Regions from separate parts of the Homo sapiens genome. Here regions 1 and 3 are each linked to region 2. Evidence: promoter capture Hi-C in 16 types of primary human blood cells and fetal thymus (Javierre and others, 2016). All regions are on one chromosome and are shown on one strand. Each heading gives the region's core, a stretch centred on a gene start or on the middle of the fragment in contact. The rest is flanking DNA. Distances are from core to core; before and after follow the strand shown.

Region 1 (2,771 bases), core at 136-2,635, 310 kb after region 2:
CTGCTGGTGAAGATGTTTAATGGTAGAGAATAGTGTCCAGATTTACTCTTACATCCATACTTGAGGTCAACTATTACGGAATAATACAAGCTTTGGAGTAAGAGGATCTGGGTTTCAAGAGCAAGCTACTTACCCTCTCTGAGTTAGTTTTCTCTGTGGGTTATTGTTAGGTACAAATGAGACTACCTGAGGAACATTTTACAAACTTTAAAGTACTTTTTAAAATGTCCGTTGTTATTTATACCATCCTAATCTACTTAGTCCCTGAATTATTCCAAATTCATTTATTTTTCAACTACTTAGTCATTGATCAAGTTTTACCAAGCAACTTCTACATCCACAGTACCATCTGTGACAAAGGGATAAAAAGAAATGTGGCCCTTAGCCCTTGTGACCTTGATAGTTACAACCATGGAAAACACATTTAAATGAAAATGCAAAGCCAACCCTGATTAAGTTTCAAATGCGCAACTGGACTATAAGCATTATCAGAATATGGAAAAGAAGTTTTTTGTTTTTTTTTTTGAGACGGAGTCTCGCTCTGTCGCCCAGGATGGAGTGCAGTGGCACAATCTCGGCTCACTGCAAGCTCCACCTCCCAGGTTCACGCCATTCTCCTGCCTCAGCCTCCCGAGTAGCTGGGACTACAGGCGCCCGCCATCACGCCCAGCTAATTTTTTGTATTTTTAGTAGAGATGGGGTTTCACCGTGTTAGCCAGGATGGTCCCGATCTCCTGACCTCGTGATCCGCCTGCCTCGGCCTCCCAAAGTGCTGGGATTACAGGCCGACCGGAAAAGAAGTTTTTTATTTGCAGTGTGGGGGAAGGCCTTAGGCAAGAGCCAGGATTTGAGCTGATCTAGGAGATTCAGGAGGCCAGGAGGAGGATCCTTGCAGAAGAGGAAGTTTGGCATACAAATTCCTCATGCATAGCAGGCCTGGAGGACTAGAACTTGAAACGTGATTCTACTTGGTCAGCCACGTTCCCCCTTCTCCCCCTTCCCTTTTATATTGCCCCTTTCAAGTGCCCATTCTGAAACTTTGTAGCACACATGAATTCAAAATGCATGTACTGTTTTGATGGAGACATATTGGAGGTTAGTTTTTAAAAAGAAAGGAAAAAACAACCTACATGTAATCACTGGCCCTTCAAAAAAATAATTCAGCAGACTGAGAAGTCTGAAAATTAGCTTAGGCTCCTAGAAACATGCGACCTTGTAAGGTCTCCAGTTTGTGGATATTACAAGCTTTGTTCCTTGGTGGCCTCACCTACCTTATCTATGGATGAAGGTAGGTTTTGCAATATTTTACCTTGCAGGGTTGTGAGGGTTACCAACAATATAAATTATGTAACTAGCAGAGTACCTGTAGTTCAGTGGGTAGCTATTATTAGAAAAATGCAAAATACAGAAGGTGAACATTAAAAAGGCCAGAATATTTTAGGTTCTAGGTTTTTATAGTTTTCACTGATCCTGAGACCAGTGAAATATTAGCATGCCTTTCCAGGCAGGAACATGAGAAGCTTCAGCTGTTAGCTCCTGCTTAAATCAGATTATTTTACGGTATTTTCCATGAAAGTACAGGCTGGCACTGGACTGTCGATCTAACAGGCATAGTCTCCCTGAGAAACCTGCTGCTTTCCTTAATCCAATGAAAGTTAAATCCTGGCTAGGCGCGGTGGCTCGTGCCTGTAATCCCAGCATTCTGGGAGGCGGAGGTGGGCGGATCATGAGTTTGGGAGTTCGAGACCAGCCTGACCAACATGGTGAAACCCCCGTCTCTACTAAAAATACAAAAATTAGCTGGGCGTGGTGACGCGTGCCTGTAATCCCAGCTGCTCAGGAGGCTGAGGCAGGAGAATCGCTTAAACCTGGGAGGTGGAGGTTGCAGTGGGCTGAGATCACGCCACTGCACTCCAGCCTGGGCGACAGAGTAAGACTCCGTCTCAAAAAAAAAAAAAAAAAAAAAGAGCTGTATGCACAGAGTTCAACTGGTCCCCAGCCTACCCCCTAGAATAGAGGCTTTTTCAACTTTTGTCCCCAGGGCCAGCCATCTAGGACACCCTCTTCTCCCTACACAGGAGAAAATGCCAAGGGGACATGGTGTCCCTGCTACTTCCTGCCAAAGTTCTGTCCTTCAAGTCTCCTCTTCCTGCCCGAGAACCTGCCCTTCTCTCAATGATTGGCACCAGCAGCCCCTGATACTGTCGTATCATAGGCCCAGACAGGATTCTTTTTGTCTCTGGACCTCTGACACTATGTGGAAGAAAGAGGAAGAGTGATATTTTACTGCAGTTCCTTCCAGCTTTTATAACTTGTGTGAGAAGCCGAGAGAAATAGGCGATGGGGCATGTCCTTGGGACTGTAGGGATGGTCATATAAACATGTGTCACTCATTATCAAGGACAATAGTTCAAGCCAAGAATGGATGTAAGTACCTCGTCAATCTGGGAAGAAGTGTCAATGTTCCAGATAACCCTTCCTCATCTCCACTGTCTTTTTAGAGTATATATCCAAAAACAATAGTGCAAATGCATTTATTCTTCAAGTTTCCTCTGAGTCATCAAAAGTCTCCCTTCCATGCAGCTCAGCCAATCATGGAGGAGAAGGGGAGGCATTGGGAATGGAATGGTCCATTCAATAAGCTCTCCAAAAGAACGTCCTGTGCGGCACAAGGGTGCGGCTTGGGTTTGTCGATCCAACTTATCACTAGCTCTGGGACCTCTAGGTTTCAGCTTCTACATCTTCAGACTAGAGCAAATCCTATCTACCTC
Region 2 (2,750 bases), core at 221-2,720:
TTATTTCTATGGAGAGGAAAATTTAGTGCATTTGAAGCTTCATCTCCTCTCTTCCTGTTCTGTATTTTTGCTTTTTAATAACCCAGTGTACTAGTCTGTTTTCACGCTGCTGATAAAGACTTACCCGAGACTTGGTAATTTATAAAGAAAAAGAGGTTTAATGGACTCACAGTTCCACGGGGCTGGGGAGGCTTCATAATCATGGTGGAAGGCAAAAGGCACGTCTTACATGGTGGCAGGCAAGAGAGAAAAAATGAGAGCCAAGCGAAAGGGGTTTCCCCTTATAAGACCATCAGCTCTGGGGAGACTTATTCACTACCACGAGACGAATATGGGGGAAACTGCCCCCATGATTCAATTATCTGCCACCAGGTCCTTCCCATAACATGTGGGAATTATGAAAGCTACCATTCAAGATGAGATTTGGGGACACAGCCAAACCATATCATCCAGTCTTGGTAGAGAAAGCTATACCCATCTGTACAAGTGGTTTGAAGGAGACTGTGGGAGAAAAGGGAGGGAAGGGGTGACCAGCCTACCTCCATCTCTATGTTGGTCCCCTCTGCAGACCAACCAGCAGGCCCAGGAAGAGACCTGTGGAAAAGTGAGCAGAGGCAAAGGACTGCGATGAGACAGTGGTGGCTGGGGAGTGGCTTCAAGGGGACAAGCCGAGGTCAGCCCTCCCTCAATGCTGGAGGGAGCAGAGAGAAACAAGGCATGCTTCTGAAAAACAGAAAAATTACATAAGGGTTGGTGTGTCGTTTTCCATCCACTGCTCCAGCACCGAGAGCCAGGAGGACTTTTGCTGTGGCTTAAGAGTGATGGTTTCCCCGTGTGTGGGTGTTTCTGAAAATCTGTGTGTTTCTACAGGCAGAGAACACTGGCACTTTTTGCTATTGTCCAAGTCCATCAATAGGTTTTCTTGCATGTTTACTAACATTTGCCGGAAGCCTCATGAGTCCAGTTTTCCACCCTATAGACTAGGAATAGGAATAGGAATAGGGGCTGTGCTTGGGAAAGGGTTCTTATTTTATAGAAATGTCAAGAGAATGGAATGACTTTAAATACAAACAAAACTCAAAAAACCTATACTCAATTCCAGTTCCTTCTTCCTTCACCTTCCCTCTTTTAAGTGAACATTTGTTGCTGTTACCTTTTTTGTGTCATTTGCCAAAGCGCTACAGACTCAGTGGAGAAAATTGGGAAAATTCAGTGAAGCACGGGTAATATTTTGGTCTCATAGTTTAGAGATAGCGATGAACATTTTTCTTTAAACACTGATGGGGTATTGTGAACTGCGGTATGCTTTTTTCCTCTTCTGCCACTTTCTACTCTTTAAAAGAAGATAAAAAAATAAAAAATAAAAAATAAAAGAAGAATGACCGTCCTTCGAGGGCGCGGCCCCTTTAAGAAGGCAGACGCCGGGGGCGGTCCCCGCGCTGATTGGCGGAGCTCGGAGCCACGTGGCCGTCTCTGGGCGGCTGCTGCCGCTGCCGCTGCTGCTGCTGCGGGGGTCGGGCGGCGGCCAGGGGATTTGGGCAGGCACCGTGGATCCCCGAGAAGGGGACGAGTTGACAGATGTGCGTGAGGAGGTCTCTGGTCGGCCTCACCTTTTGTACCTGCTACCTGGCTTCTTACCTCACGAACAAGGTGAGGGGGCGGGCGCGGGAGGCAGCGATTGCACGTGGGAGGTTTGAGTCGGAGAATCTTCCCGTGACAAACGGAGCCTCCTCCTGCTTTTTACCTCATTCTTCCTGGTGGCGATGGAGATGGAGAGCGAACCTCCTCCGTGTGTGGGATGCTCTTTCAGAAATAGGATTTGCCAGCCTGTACTGTCCCCGTTTCCTGCACTGTAAAGCACGGTACATCTCCAGGGAAACAGGATTTTTGGGCTGGCCATTTCCCGGGAACTTGGTTTGGGGCTGTGTGGACTAGTTTTAAGAGAAAGCAAGCAATTGGCTCCTGCTCCCCCGGGGAGGAAGAGTCAGAAGAAATCTGACACATCCTGCCTTTTTTCTAAACACGCCCCTGTCCCAGAGCCCCCGTGAAGTTCCAGAAGCCTTTAAATAGAAGAGATTAAGCCGTCTCCCCCTCACACTGCTGATTCCCGAATCAATTTTTTTGTACGTCTCCATTGTAAGCACTTCAGGAGTTTTTCATGGAATTATTATTTTTTAAAATAAAACATACATTTAGTTTTAGGTTTAAACTAATGTCATGACATCATGAAAACCTTTTGGTGAGGAGGCAGAGAAGCAGTGGTGCCAGCTTTGGGGTTTTGTTTTGCAAGGAGAGGGAAGCTGGCTTTAGGTTTGGTACCACGCAGGGAAAGGTTGGATCCAATAGGACCGAGTGGGCATGGCTGGGGCATTACCTGCTGGCCTGGACTCTGGGCTGGCCCCAGCCAAAGTGGGAATACAGGGTGCAAGACCACCTGGCCCCACTGTGGGGTCTTACTGCGGGCTCCCCACCTGCTCCCCGCTCTTCCTTTCTCCTCTCTTCCTCTCTGGAAAAGAACCATCGACAAACAGCATTTCCTTCTACCTCCTCTCCTACAATGAATGGCTGCCTTTATATATTCAGAGGATGCTCCCCAACCCCCTTTCCTTCTCCAGTTGATTTTTATTTTTATTTTTTTGAGATAGAGTCTCGCTCTGTCACCCAGGCTGGAGTGCAGTGACGTGATCTCGGCTCACTGCAACCTCTGCCTCCTGGGTTCAAGCGATTCTCCTGCCTCAGCCTCGTGAGTA
Region 3 (2,809 bases), core at 18-2,517, 320 kb after region 2:
AAGAAAAAAAAAAAGCAACTGCTCGATGCAGAGACTAGAAGTCAAGCCCCGGCTCTGCTATTCACACCAGGGTGTGGTGGGTCTTGGCCAAGTTCATCTCTCTCGGACTCAGTGTCCCTGTGAAAGAGGGATCGTGACTATACTCTCCCCACAGTGGCAATGTGGGGAACTCTTGAGATCTGAGTATAAACCTGGGGGCACAGTGCCTGCCTGGCACATTGGGGGTACTCAGGAAGTGTGGTTATTATGGTGGTTACAGGTTTTACTATTTATTGCTTATAGAAGCAGCCCAAATGCTTCTATGGACTGTCTTTTCCCCTGCAGACACTCCCACAGAAGCATTTGGGGCACTGGCTTAACAGCAAGGTTACAGGTTAACTGACCATGAATGACTGAGATCTAGGACAGGGTGTGTGTAATCTCTCTGCGTCTTCCTGCTGGTTCAACATTCTCTCCTCCCACAAGAACCAGTTCCCAAGGGTACTCCACGCAACTTCACGTTGCCCTGCTTATCTGACCCCCAGAGGAACACTTCTTCCAGTGAAAACCTCCACAGTTCCCATTTAGACTCCTGCGGAGAGTTGCTCATTGCTGTTGACAGCAATAATAGTTCGTTTTCTTTTATTTTGATTAAATAATAGCTTGATTGGAAAGTGTTTCCCGGTGCAGCAATTAATAACTGGCTGGAGTTGCCAAGGCTGGAGGTAAGGCCAAAAGCACTTCACCCAGCTAGTCACTCATTACCCAGGAAATGTTAGACCTGGAGGCTATTCACTGCTGGTACAAACTCTGAAATTGGTAGGGAGAAAAAGGAAAAAAAGAAAAACAGCCTAAGCAATTTCCTTTTAGGTAATGAAAAGTTTAAAAATGGAGTAGCGTGTTGCCATAGCCACCATCTCTGGCTCTGGGCTGGCCTCCACGCTGGCATCCAGCGGACGGCATTTGACATGGTTTTCAGCAGAGGCAGCTGTGCCTCTTAAGTACCCATAATGAATATCTGCAGCTCCAGGCTCCCTCGGAAATCCTCAAGCCTTCACTTGTCACCTAATTTCCTCGGGAAGTGTTTCTAATTACACATTTCTTGCTGCCGGCTCCAGGTCAAGTCTTTTTGTACACAATATGCGAATTACATAAAACCACAAAACAGTGAGGGGACTCTGGAGTGATCAAAATTGCCATGTAGTTGTTTTAACTTAGTAGTTAAGCATCCGTGGGTGTAATAGGATGTCATTTGCATGAGCAAAAACAACATTAAAGGAACATCACGTGTTTCATTCTTGAGAACTCTTTGTAGGGGTCAGAACCCATTTCAGCAAGATATCTATATAACAATAGAATTTCCAACTCTAACACATGGACTGTTTATTTTAACTACAATAGCAGGGGCTTTGTAAAGAGAGACTTGTTTTGTACTGTTACCTGGGATCTGCCATTTAGGGACCTAAATGGCAGTTTTGTTTCCTGGAAGTGAAATAATCCTTATCTTTGGACTCTCTTAGTTTAGGAAATTCTCCAAGACGTAAAGCAACATTCACCAACTATTCTTAGAGAAAACTCTGAAATCTAGTTAAATTTATGTCCAGATGCTACTGTTTGGGTGTTAAGGTTTTTTTTAGAGTTGAGTAAATTGGAGGATTCTTTAGCTCTTAAAGAAGCGGCATAAATGGTTTTCTAAAAAAATGGGTTTTGACTGGACTGAGGCAACCCCCTCCCACACCGCAGTGTTTTGGAAGACTGAGCCTGTGCGGGATGGAGAGGTACGGGGGACTCTGGTTGTCTTCGTGGGGCCATGGAATTTTGCTCAAGTGAGCCCCCAGGCCATGCCCATGGACGTCCCAGAACCAGGGATGGCTGGTTCTGGCACCAGCTTGCAGCTGAGGCAAGACCTGTCCTGTCTTGAGGACATTATGCTAAGTGAAGTAAGCCAGTCATGGAAAGACAAATACACTGTGATTCCACTTGTATGAGGTACTTAGAGTCATCAGAATCATAGAGACAGAGTGGTGGTAGCCAGGGGCTGGGGGGAGGAGGGAAGGGGAGTTAGTGTTTAACGTACAATTTCAGTTTTACAAGATGAAAAGAGCTATGGAGATGGGTGGTAGTGATGGTTGCACAACAATGTGAATGTACTTAATGCCACTCAACTAACTGTACCTTAAAAATTGCTAAGATGGTGGCGGGCTCAGGGACTCACTCCTATAATCCCAGCACTTTGGGAGGCTGAGGTGTGCAGATCACCTGAGGTCAGGAATTTGAGACCAGCCTGGCGAACATGGTGAAACCCTGTCTCTACTAAAAATATAAAAATTAGCTAGGTGTGGTGGCTAATTAGCTAGTCCCAGCTACTCAGGAGGCTGAGGCAGGAGAATCGTTTGAACCCAGGAGGCGGAGGTTGCAGTGAGCTGAGATTGCACCACTGCACTCCAGCCTGGGCGACAGAGTGAGACTCTGTCTCACAAAATAAAATAAAAAATTGCTAAGATGGTAAATGTCATGCTATGTATATTTTACCACACAGACACATATACACACAATGGGGAAAGGAGAGAGGAACCTATCCTGACCCCATTCCCTAAGGAACTTCAGCAGGAAGTAGCAGTCACTGCAAGAAGTGTCTTTTGCTCCAGGTTTCCCTCTGCCCACTGACCCTCCTCCTCTCAGTCTCCAAATGTTGAGTGTCCCCAGGCCAGTCCAGGACTTCTCCTGTCTACACTCGCTTCCTAAGTATCTCATCCAATGACAAGGCTCTATGAGCTGTGACAGATTCTGTCTTCCAGAGTTGGTCCCAACAGTATCTCCCATTCTATAA

The links. Contacts are between HindIII fragments. The CHiCAGO score rates a contact against its expected background, and 5 or more counts as called.
Region 1: a contact is called between a fragment that was not itself captured here and the fragment with the promoter of SLC35D4 in region 2, in 15 of 17 cell types (total B cells, non-activated CD4 T cells, naive B cells and 12 more). The highest score is 11.0, in total B cells.
Region 3: a fragment that was not itself captured here is called in contact with the fragment with the promoter of SLC35D4 in region 2 in 1 of 17 cell types (non-activated CD4 T cells); the score reaches 5.4 in non-activated CD4 T cells.

Annotation. Positions count from the first base shown.
Region 1 is chr18:23,129,132-23,131,902 of GRCh38, reverse strand. No RefSeq gene overlaps it. Among named protein-coding and RNA genes, the nearest start is that of CABLES1, 5.0 kb to the left of the region's middle. RefSeq lists a silencer at 1-178. The HindIII fragment of the contact is 275 bases long and covers 1,248-1,522 here.
Region 2 is chr18:23,436,681-23,439,430 of GRCh38, reverse strand. It overlaps SLC35D4 (solute carrier family 35 member D4), which reads left to right and starts at 1,470. Exons shown (of 15, transcript NM_032933.6): 1 at 1,470-1,650. The coding sequence starts at 1,579. RefSeq lists a silencer at 1,342-1,441. The HindIII fragment of the contact is 5,255 bases long and covers 40-2,750 here.
Region 3 is chr18:23,112,745-23,115,553 of GRCh38, reverse strand. No RefSeq gene overlaps it. Among named protein-coding and RNA genes, the nearest start is that of CABLES1, 21 kb to the left of the region's middle. The HindIII fragment of the contact is 5,021 bases long and covers 1-2,809 here.